Linked DNA regions of Homo sapiens: region 1 is linked to region 2. Evidence: promoter capture Hi-C in 16 types of primary human blood cells and fetal thymus (Javierre and others, 2016). All regions are on one chromosome and are shown on one strand. Each heading gives the region's core, a stretch centred on a gene start or on the middle of the fragment in contact. The rest is flanking DNA. Distances are from core to core; before and after follow the strand shown. Region 1 overlaps ERICH1 (glutamate rich 1). Region 2 holds the start of CLN8 (CLN8 transmembrane ER and ERGIC protein).

The links. Contacts are between HindIII fragments. The CHiCAGO score rates a contact against its expected background, and 5 or more counts as called.
Region 1: a contact is called between a fragment that was not itself captured here and the fragment with the promoter of CLN8 in region 2, in 1 of 17 cell types (monocytes). The highest score is 5.2, in monocytes.

What each region holds. Positions count from the first base shown.
Region 1 is chr8:675,284-679,782 of GRCh38, forward strand. The region is part of intron 3 of ERICH1 (glutamate rich 1); the gene reads right to left. Among named protein-coding and RNA genes, the nearest start is that of ERICH1, 54 kb to the right of the region's middle. The HindIII fragment of the contact is 2,190 bases long and covers 1,492-3,681 here.
Region 2 is chr8:1,762,307-1,767,280 of GRCh38, forward strand. CLN8 (CLN8 transmembrane ER and ERGIC protein) reads left to right here and starts at 1,483. Exons shown (of 3, transcript NM_018941.4): 1 at 1,483-1,579. CLN8-AS1 (CLN8 antisense RNA 1) reads right to left here and starts at 2,278. Exons shown (of 2, transcript NR_134303.1): 1 at 2,128-2,278; 2 at 1-622. The HindIII fragment of the contact is 15,536 bases long and covers 1-3,889 here.

The sequences.
Region 1 (4,499 bases), core at 1,337-3,836, 1.1 Mb before region 2:
CGGCCCCTCGGCGAGGACAGAGACGCGGCGGCCCCTCGTGAGGACAGAGACGCGGCGCCCCCTCGGCGAGGACAGAGACGCGGCGGCCCCTCGTGAGGACAGAGACGCGGCGCCCCCTCGGCGAGGACAGAGACGCGGCGGCCCCTCGGCGAGGACAGAGACGCGGCGGCCCCTCGTGAGGACAGAGACGCGGCGGCCCCTCGGCGAGGACAGAGACGCGGCGGCCCCTCGTGAGGACAGAGACGCGGCGGCCCCTCGGCGAGGACAGAGACGCGGCGGCCCCTCGTGAGGACAGAGACGCGGCGGCCCCTCGGCGAGGACAGAGACGCGGCGGCCCCTCGTGAGGACAGAGACGCGGCGCCCCCTCGGCGAGGACAGAGACGCGGCGGCCCCTCGTGAGGACAGAGACGCGGCGGCCCCTCGTGAGGACAGAGGCGCGGCGGCCCCTCGTGAGGACAGAGACGCGGCGGCCCCTCGTGAGGACAGAGACGCGGCGGCCCCTCGGCGAGGACAGAGACGCGGCGCCCCCTCGGCGAGGACAGAGACGCGGCGGCCCCTCGTGAGGACAGAGGCGCGGCGGCCCCTCGTGAGGACAGAGACGCGGCGCCCCCTCGGCGAGGACAGAGACGCGGCGGCCCCTCGTGAGGACAGAGGCGCGGCGGCCCCTCGTGAGGACAGAGGCGCGGCGGCCCCTCGTGAGGACAGAGACGCGGCGCCCCCCCGGCGAGGACAGAGACGCGGCGGCCCCTCGTGAGGACAGAGACGCGGCGGCCCCTCGTGAGGACAGAGACGCGGCGGCCCCTCGTGAGGACAGAGACGCGGCGGCCCCTCGTGAGGACAGAGACGCGGCGCCCCCTCGGCGAGGACAGAGACGCGGCGCCCCCTCGGCGAGGACAGAGACGCGGCGGCCCCTCGGCGAGGACAGAGACGCGGCGGCCCCTCGGCGAGGACAGAGGCGCGGCGGCCCCTCGTGAGGACAGAGACGCGGCGGCCCCTCGTGAGGACAGAGACGCGGCGCCCCCTCGGCGAGGACAGAGACGCGGCGGCCCCTCGGCGAGGACAGAGACGCGGCGGCCCCTCGTGAGGACAGAGACGCGGCGGCCCCTCGTGAGGACAGAGACGCGGCGCCCCCTCGGCGAGGACAGAGACGCGGCGGCCCCTCGGCGAGGACAGAGACGCGGCGGCCCCTCGGCGAGGACAGAGACGCGGCGGCCCCTCGTGAGGACAGAGGCGCGGCGGCCCCTCGTGAGGACAGAGGCACACTACCCGTGCTGCTGCTCCCTGACAGAAGGGTATCAGATAAGTAACTGGCGCCATGCGGGGGGAACAGAGGGTGTGTGCAGGCCAAGAACAGACGGCACATGGCGCACACGCCCCGCCCCACACCCAAGCCCCGCCCAGACACTGATGGGTAAAGTCTATACCACGGGCGTCTGTGCCACGGCCGGCACACGGCTCCCGGGTGTTGCCCGAGCAGACCTAGAACTATAAAGCTTGCCGCTGCACCACGCCAAGGGCGGGGGTTCAGACAGTTCTCATTTTAGGAAGCGCCTGTTGGAGTTTTCTGAGCTGTGCACCCCATCACAGATTGTGAAGAATCAAGATGAAACAACGTGAGTGAAGTTTGTGAGACACTGTAAGGGCAGATTCCCTATCATTTCCACTCAAGCGCTTTCCCTTCACCTCTGAAATGAGATAGAATACATGAGTTCCTCTTCCACAATGAAGCTCTTCAAAGCGGTTTCCTATTCTCCTCTGTCTCAACAGCCTCAAGCACACCGCCCTCAAAGCCCAGGGCCTGCCCGCATGCTGGACAGGAACCCTGCAGAGGGTGAGCTCCGGGCTCTTCGCCAGCTGCGGACACCGCAAGCTGTGACGCAGTCCCACCCCATGACTCGATAAAGCAGTCGCATCGGTTTCTCTCACCCTGAAAATACAGGAAGTATTTTACCAAGCACCAGCCTCCCCTCTTCATTGGATGTAGACACCCCCCAGCTCTGTTCACGGTCAAACTGAACGCCGCTGTGGAACTGTGAGATGACATTGCTGCCGCTTTGTGGAAGAGAGTTCCCACCGTGTCTTGTTGTGATTGGTATCCGTTCTGCACAGCCTCCACCACCACAGCGTGGCACAGGCTGAAGCAGCTCCGCACACAGTCCCAAGATGAAGCCGCCAAGCCTGAGTCTCCTCGACACCTTCATCTCGCTCCTCACTCACCAGTGGGTGTTTGAATAATTTCATCTGCGAGTGTGTGTTGTTGCTTTTGGGGTCCACTGCGCAGGTCTGACCAACCAGCCTGGTCCAGACGTCTTTGAACAGCAGCCTCTGGGTCTGCCCTGAACACACTGATGTTTAAAACCAACCACGTCTAGGCAATCCATTTTAATTTCCCAGGTTCTGTTAAAAAAAGATGAAATTAAGCCTCTCCTCTTAGGTGTCTATTAAAAAATGTGACTGCCTTCATGAATTTGGAGATAAGTAACACATCGAGTGTTTTCCCACCCACAGGAAGCCCCTCTAGGATGCGACAGGTCACGGGGGCGACCCTCATCACCCAGCAAGAACACTGCGGAATGCTGCTCATCACCCCCCAGGCTCCTCCCGGCACGTCCTTCTCTGCCAGCTCTGTCAGTGCCGCTCATCGCCAGTGTCGTACCCCGGGGTCAGCTTCCCCTCCTAAGACTACAAGACAAACAAATGGTTGCCCTGTTGAGATCGACTGCGCTATTGATCTATTTTTATAAGACTATAAAACAGTAATTTAAAAAGGTGAAGGAGGCAAAAAGGCCATAAAATGTTAAGTTTGTCATATTTTTTTCACATAAATGTGTATGCGTGTACTTTTGAAAAGGAAAAGTTAATATACATTAAAAAAAAAAGAGACTGGACATCCTTTTCTCAGGATGCTCCCTGCAGTTACTCCTTGGGTGGTCTAAGTATAGGCTGCTTTTTTCCTCCCAATTTCTCTGATTTCCAAGTCTAGTTTAAGAGAGGAGGCTTGAAAATCCAGCATCGGGAACACGGAAGTGCCGATACGTCTTGTTGGTGTTAAGAAGGTAATGAAAGGATACTGCACACAACGACATGCAAATCAGTTAATCCGTTAGAAACAGATTCCTGAGAAAAGTACAATTTAGCCAATGGACACAGAAAGAAACAGAAAATCACAATATTCCTGCATCTGTCTTAAAAAATGAGTCTAGTTAAAAATAATCCCACAAAAGAACTTCAGGCTTAGATAGGTTCACCTGTGACTTTTACTAAACATTTAAAGAAAAAGTCTTGGGAGGCCGAGGCGGGCGGATCACGAGGTCAGGAGATTGAGACCATCCTGGCTAACACGGTGAAACCCAGTCTCTACTAAAAATACAAAAATTAGCCAGGCATGGTGGCAGGTGCCTGTAGTCCCAGCTACTCCGGAGGCTGAGGCAGAAGAATCGCTTGAACCTGGGAGGCGGAGCTTGCAGTGAGCCCAGATTGCACCACTGCACTCCAGCCTGGGTGACAGCGCGAGACTCCATCTCAAAAGAAAAGAAAAAGCCAACACATGTCTTACATACCCGTTTCCAGATAGCAGAAAAGATAATGACCCCTGACGACTCCAACGTCCCTCACGGCTCTGGGCCCTCATGGCTCTGACGACCGTCACAGCTCTGGCCTCTTATGATTCTGGCCCCTCAAAGCTTCAGCTCCGACCCCTCACAGCTTTGATCCCTCACAGCTCCTACTCACAGCAAGTGACCCCTTACAGCTCCCATCCCTCAGCAGTGACCTCTCACAGCTCCCACCCCTTACAGCAGTGACCCCTCACAGCTCCGACTCCTCACAGCTCCCACCTCTCACAGCTCTCACCCGTCAAAGCTCCGGCCCCTCACAGCTCCCACCCCTCACAGCACCCACCCCTCAAAGCTCCAGTCCCTCTCAGCAGTGACCCCTCACAGCTCCCAACTCACAGCTTCAGCTCCGACCCCTCACAGCTTTGATCCCTCACAGCTCCTACTGCTCACAGCAAGTGACCCCTCACGGCTTCCACCCCTCACAGCAGTGACCCCTCACAGCTCCCACCCCTCACAAAAGCTCTGGCCCCTCACAGCACCCACCCCTCACAGCTCCCACCCATCACAGCACCCAGCCCTCACAAAAGCTCTGGCCGTCACAGCTCCCACCCCTCACAGCACCCACCCCTCGCAGCTCTGTGAGGCCTCCAGCGTCTCCACTCCCCTGACAAGGGCATTGCAAGAAGGGAGGGCCACGGGCCCATCTCTCCCGTGGATGCTGCTACAAATATTCCATGCAAGATATTCACGAGATTCCAGTCATGTAAAGTGTATGATAAAATCTCAAATCAAACTGCCTCAAAGGAAGAAATCTAAATCGGATACCGGATACCTACAAGAACCCACAGGCAAGGTCATAAGTCATGTTGAAATGCTGAAAGCCTTTTCTCCAACAGGTCCTGTGACATCACTGTGGTCACCTCCACACTGGGGCTCCAGGCA
Region 2 (4,974 bases), core at 233-2,732:
CTGAGTAGCTGAGATTACAGGTGCCCACCACCACACCCGGCTAATTTTTTTCTCCCAAACTGCTGGGATTACAGGCTTGAGCCACCGCGCCCGCCAAGATGGGTTGTTGATTTTAAAACGATGTCACCCTGGCTCTCCTAGGTTCCTGTTCCCCTAACATCATGAAGGCTGCTGGCAGTTCTCTGGCCTCCAGGGAGGCCTCCACACACATTTACCCATGTTCTTAGACAATCCTAGGGACTCAAGGCTTCAACAAACCTAAATGAGCCAGCAGAAAAATAAACTTGAACATGAATGTCAACGTTTTCCCACATGTACTAAAGGGTTATAATAATTTTGAAATGTTTATTTCAAAGAGCGTTGGTAATTTAAACGTCCTATTTAATCCCCAAAACAGTCCTGAGGGGGAGATAAGGCAGTTATCTTCATAGTACAGGAAAGGAAAAAAGCGAGGGTCCAAGGCCGACTATACCCTCAGCTCCATTAGCCCCCGAGGCCTCCCTGACAGGCGGGGCGGACAATCCCAGTGCAGATGCTCTGTATCGATCGCATGCTATCGGTTCTTTCAAGGAACGTGTATTGATCATCAATTAAGTGGTGAGTACTCCTCTAGATGTCGATTCTAAAGAGGGAACAAAACACATTAGACAGAAGAAACATAAGTAACTCGAATAACAACCTTAGAGAGAAGAAACATAAGTAACTCGAATAACAACCTTAGCAAACTGCGGAAACTCCTACAGACAAAAACTCAGGTGTGGGCGCAGAAGGGCCGGGGATGCGCTCGGTCAAGACTTGAAGGTCCGGGGCTTGGGCCCTGTGTCCTCACCGAGCCCCGGGGAGGCTCCGGCTCCGTCCACACCCGGAGCGCGACTCAGCCGCGGCCGGGGCTCTTCTGGAGAACGGCGCGGTCAGGCTCTGCCGCAGCTTTCAGGTCCCCTCGGCCCCGTCCGGGTGCAGCGCAACCAGGCTGCCCGCGGAGCCCCACCGCCCCCATGCCGCCGCCCGCCATGGTTCAGCCCGGCCCCGCCCCTCCCGCCGGCCGTGGTTCAGCGCGTCCACCCCGCCGCCCCACAGCGCCCGCCGCGCCGCGCCCCGCCCCCCGCCGCGCCCCGCCCCCCGCCGCGCCCCGCCCCCCGCCGCGCCCCGCCCCCCGCCGCGCCCCGCCCCCCGCCGCGCCCCGCCCCCCGCCGCGCCCCGCCCCCCGCCGCGCCCCGCCCCCCGCCGCGCCCCGCCCCCCGCCGCGCCCCGCCCCCCGCCGCGCCCCGCCCCCCGCCGCGCCCCGCCCCCCGCCGCGCCCCGCCCCCCGCGCCGCGCCCCGCCCCCCGCCGCGCCCCTCCCGCGCCCGCCGCCCCGCCCCTCCCGCGCCCGCCGCCGTCGTAGCGCCTAGGCGGGGCCTCTCGTAGCGACGCCCCCAGGGGGGCAGAACGCGTGCGCACGCGCGTGCGAACGCGCGTGCGCGGGCGGTGTTTGAGGCCGGCCAGTCGTGACTGGGCGGCAATGAGGTCAGTGACTGCCGGGAGTCCTGCAGGGGCGGGGCGGCGCCAAGCGCAGGGAGCCCGGCTGAGTGGCAGCCCAGGTGAGCGCTCAGGGAGCCCGGGTGAGGGCCGGGAACCCAGGTGAGGGGCAGCCCAGGTGAGCGCGCGGGGTGCCCGGGTTAGGGGCCGGGAACCCAGGTGAGGGGCAGCCCAGGTGAGCGCGCGTGGAGCCCAGGCGAGGGGGCTGGGAAGCCCGGGTGAGGGGACCGGGGATCCCAGGTGAGGGGCCGGGAACTCAGCTGAGGGGGAACCCAGATGGGCGCGCGGGAGCCCACGTGAGGGGGAGCCCGGGTGAGGGGCCGGGGTGGCTCCTGGCGTCCGCGGTCCCAGCCCTGCCTTCCGGTGGGCGTGCGGCACCCCGGGCCGTGCGGTTCCCGGACAGCAGCTTGTGGGGGACTTTCGAGCCCCGCAGCCCGGGGTCCTGCCTGCGCGGGTTGGGCGTGGGGGGCTCCTCACCGCGACGCTGACTTTGGAGTCCTTGAGCGGCGCGGATGCCGGACGGAGGGAGGGGACAGGCGGAGGCGGAGGCGGCGCCGTCGCCCCTGACCTCGCTTCCCTCAGACCGGCTGGGCAAGTACGGTCAGCTCACCTGTGTGCCCACGAGGCGGGGAGGCGGCTCCTGCAGAGCCACAGAGGTGCCGTCGGAGCTGCTGTCAAGGACAGCAGGTGTCACGTGGGTGTGGCCTCCACTGGTCACCGAGTTAGCTGGGGCGGAAGGGGACAAGGTGCAGCTCAACATGGTGTGGGAGGCGGAGGGACGCTGGGTCAGTCAGAACCTGTAGGAGCGGGGAGGGACGCTGGGTAAGGTCACCAAAGTGTGCGGGGGAGAGAGCGGGCGCTGGGTCAGGTCAGCAGGAGGTGGGACCCGCCTGGGCTCTGGGCCCTATAGCCAGCTGCTCTAGGTTGGGGTTGGGTGTGGACAGTAGGGAGGGGAGCCAGGGGCTCCCCAGCCTGTGTAGATTCTGCTGTAAGTGACTCTTCTCTGAAAGACTGGCGCGAGGCGGCTGCTTCTGACTCCTGTTTCAGTTTACCCTCTGTGTGAAATCTGTAACTATCCAGCTTCTGCTTACCTCACTCCCGTATTTTGATTTTTATTTACATACAACTTTTCAGGAAGGTTGTGAGAGGAAAGAGCAATGGTGCAGGAAGTGTGAGTGATTGAGGGAATATGAGATGGCCACAGCTCCCCACTGAGCTTGAACACTTCTGTGCCTCACTTTCAGATTGGCCGTCATGGAGGCTGTGGTTGTTAAGGAAGTTCTTCCTGAGCATCCAGTTTCCATACAAAGAGCACAGGTTCTCTAGGTGGCCTCAGAGATGTTCAATACACAATGTCTTCTGATAACGAGGAACTGGGCAAAAGCCTGGTAGGACACCGGGTAGGTAAATGGTGGAGTCCCTGCAACCGTGTTGCAGAGGAGGATTAGCTGTTGCTGAGAGAAGAGAAGCAGGCCGGGGAGCAGCTTGTATACTGTTATCCCCTTTTATGTAAAAAGAAGAGTTTATATCTAGAAAAACAATTGACCCAGCAGGCACCAAAAAATAGTGATGGTGCTTGGAGCTGTGTAAGAGGATTGTAAATTTTTATTTTTGTATTTTTATGCTTGTTTATATTTTCTGAATTTTGTGTATTAAACATGTATTTCTGTTGATTTTGGAAAACATTTTTACAACCCATCAATGTATAATTTTCAAAATGTTAGAAGTATAATTCTCATGTAAATAGCTCTTGTCAGGTTATATTTCAGTCATTAATGCAGTATACAGCAGGATAGGAATGTCAGTTCAAAAGAGAATACACAAAACTAGGATTTTCTTAGTGAGTGGGTAACAGGAATGCTGAGAGAAGATTGCCAGATTAGATAATAAGATTGGTGAATATCCTGTGTGCATTGAAACCACAGCCTTTGGGATTGTCTTTTCTTCTTGATGGAAAGGAGAATTAGCTTTGCAGATTGTAAAATGCGTGACCCACAATCAGTGGTAAATAGTTTAGTTATTTCTCCTAGAAAGTCAAGTGATTGTTGGGGTTGTAAAACACTGAACTTGCGTTAGCAGGGAAAAAAGCATGCAACCTTTTTTTTCCCTTTTGACGTCACTTCCAAGTTTGGATAAATTATCTCAATGAAAAACAAAAATGCTGGTATCCATAGCAGTTTAGCCCCCATAAACCGGAGGAGCGCATAGATGCATGACAGAGTCGAAGGGTTCCAGTGGCCACTGAGCCTGGTTCCTGGTCACACTGCAGCAACAGAGCTAACACTCTTACTGATGTGTTTGCATTCAGATTTTTAAAAAACTTCATGGCCCAGTGCAATAGAAGAGCTGAAACCACAGAATCTTATAAGACAAGCTTTTTGTATACATTTTCTCCAAAGAAAATGAAGATCTGCAGCGTCAAGAGATGGTGGCCTTCCAGGAGTTGTTTATTCTCCGGCTCCACTTCCTCTACTGCAGAGAGGAAAGGGGCTGGTGTGGAAGGGCTTGGAAGCCTTCCAGAATGAAAGAACCAGATGAGTCCATTAGGTTCGGCCTCCAGTTTTTTGTTTTTTTTTTTTTTTTTGAGACGGAGCCTCACTCTGTCACCCAGGCTGGAGTGCAGTGGCGCTATCTCAGCTCACTGCACGTTCCGCCTTCCAGGTTCCCGCCATTCTCCTGCCTCAGCCTCCCGAGTAGCTGGGACTACAGGCGCTCGCCATCACGCCTGGCTATTTTTTTTTTGTATTTTAGTAGAGACAAGGTTTCACCATGTTAGCCAGGATGGTCTCGATCTCCTGACCTCGTGATCCTCCCACCTTGGGCTCCCAAAGTGCTGGGATTACAGGTGTGAGCCACCCTGCCCGGCCGATTCGGCCTCCAGTTTTACCCATGGAAGGAACAGTGACTTCCAGCTGTGCATTACACTTAAGGACTCCTTCATGTGGCCTGAGCCTTATGGTGCACAGCAAGGGAACAGTGGGAACCCCTGTGTCCCATTTTGCGTATCAAGAGTGAGAGGGTGTGGTTGGGTCAAGGAGCAGAAATAGAAGCAAAAGGAGAAGCTGAGCTCTTCCCATACCCCTTCTGTGCTGCCTGACAGAACAAGGCCTAGCCACACTTCTGTGGGTGCCCACCTTGTGACTTGGGGTGAACCACAGCTGTTCTCAGTACAACGCTGATGCCACGAAAGGACAGCAGAGCTCTGCAGGACTCCAGGAAGACTGGGCGCTTGGGCTGGATCCTGCCTCTGGGACTGGCCTTCTACCCTCATGGCTGAGAGAGCTGAGGAGTTCACCTCCTTTGTGAACTCCTGGCTGGAGGATGCTGGTTGGCATTAACTAAACTCAGAGACCCACAGTAACGAGTTAGACTAGAACAGCACCAGCTTACCCAGAAAGTCAGGAGGTTTGAGCAAAGAATCAGAATGGGGGATTCACTACAGGACTGGAAGGGGAAG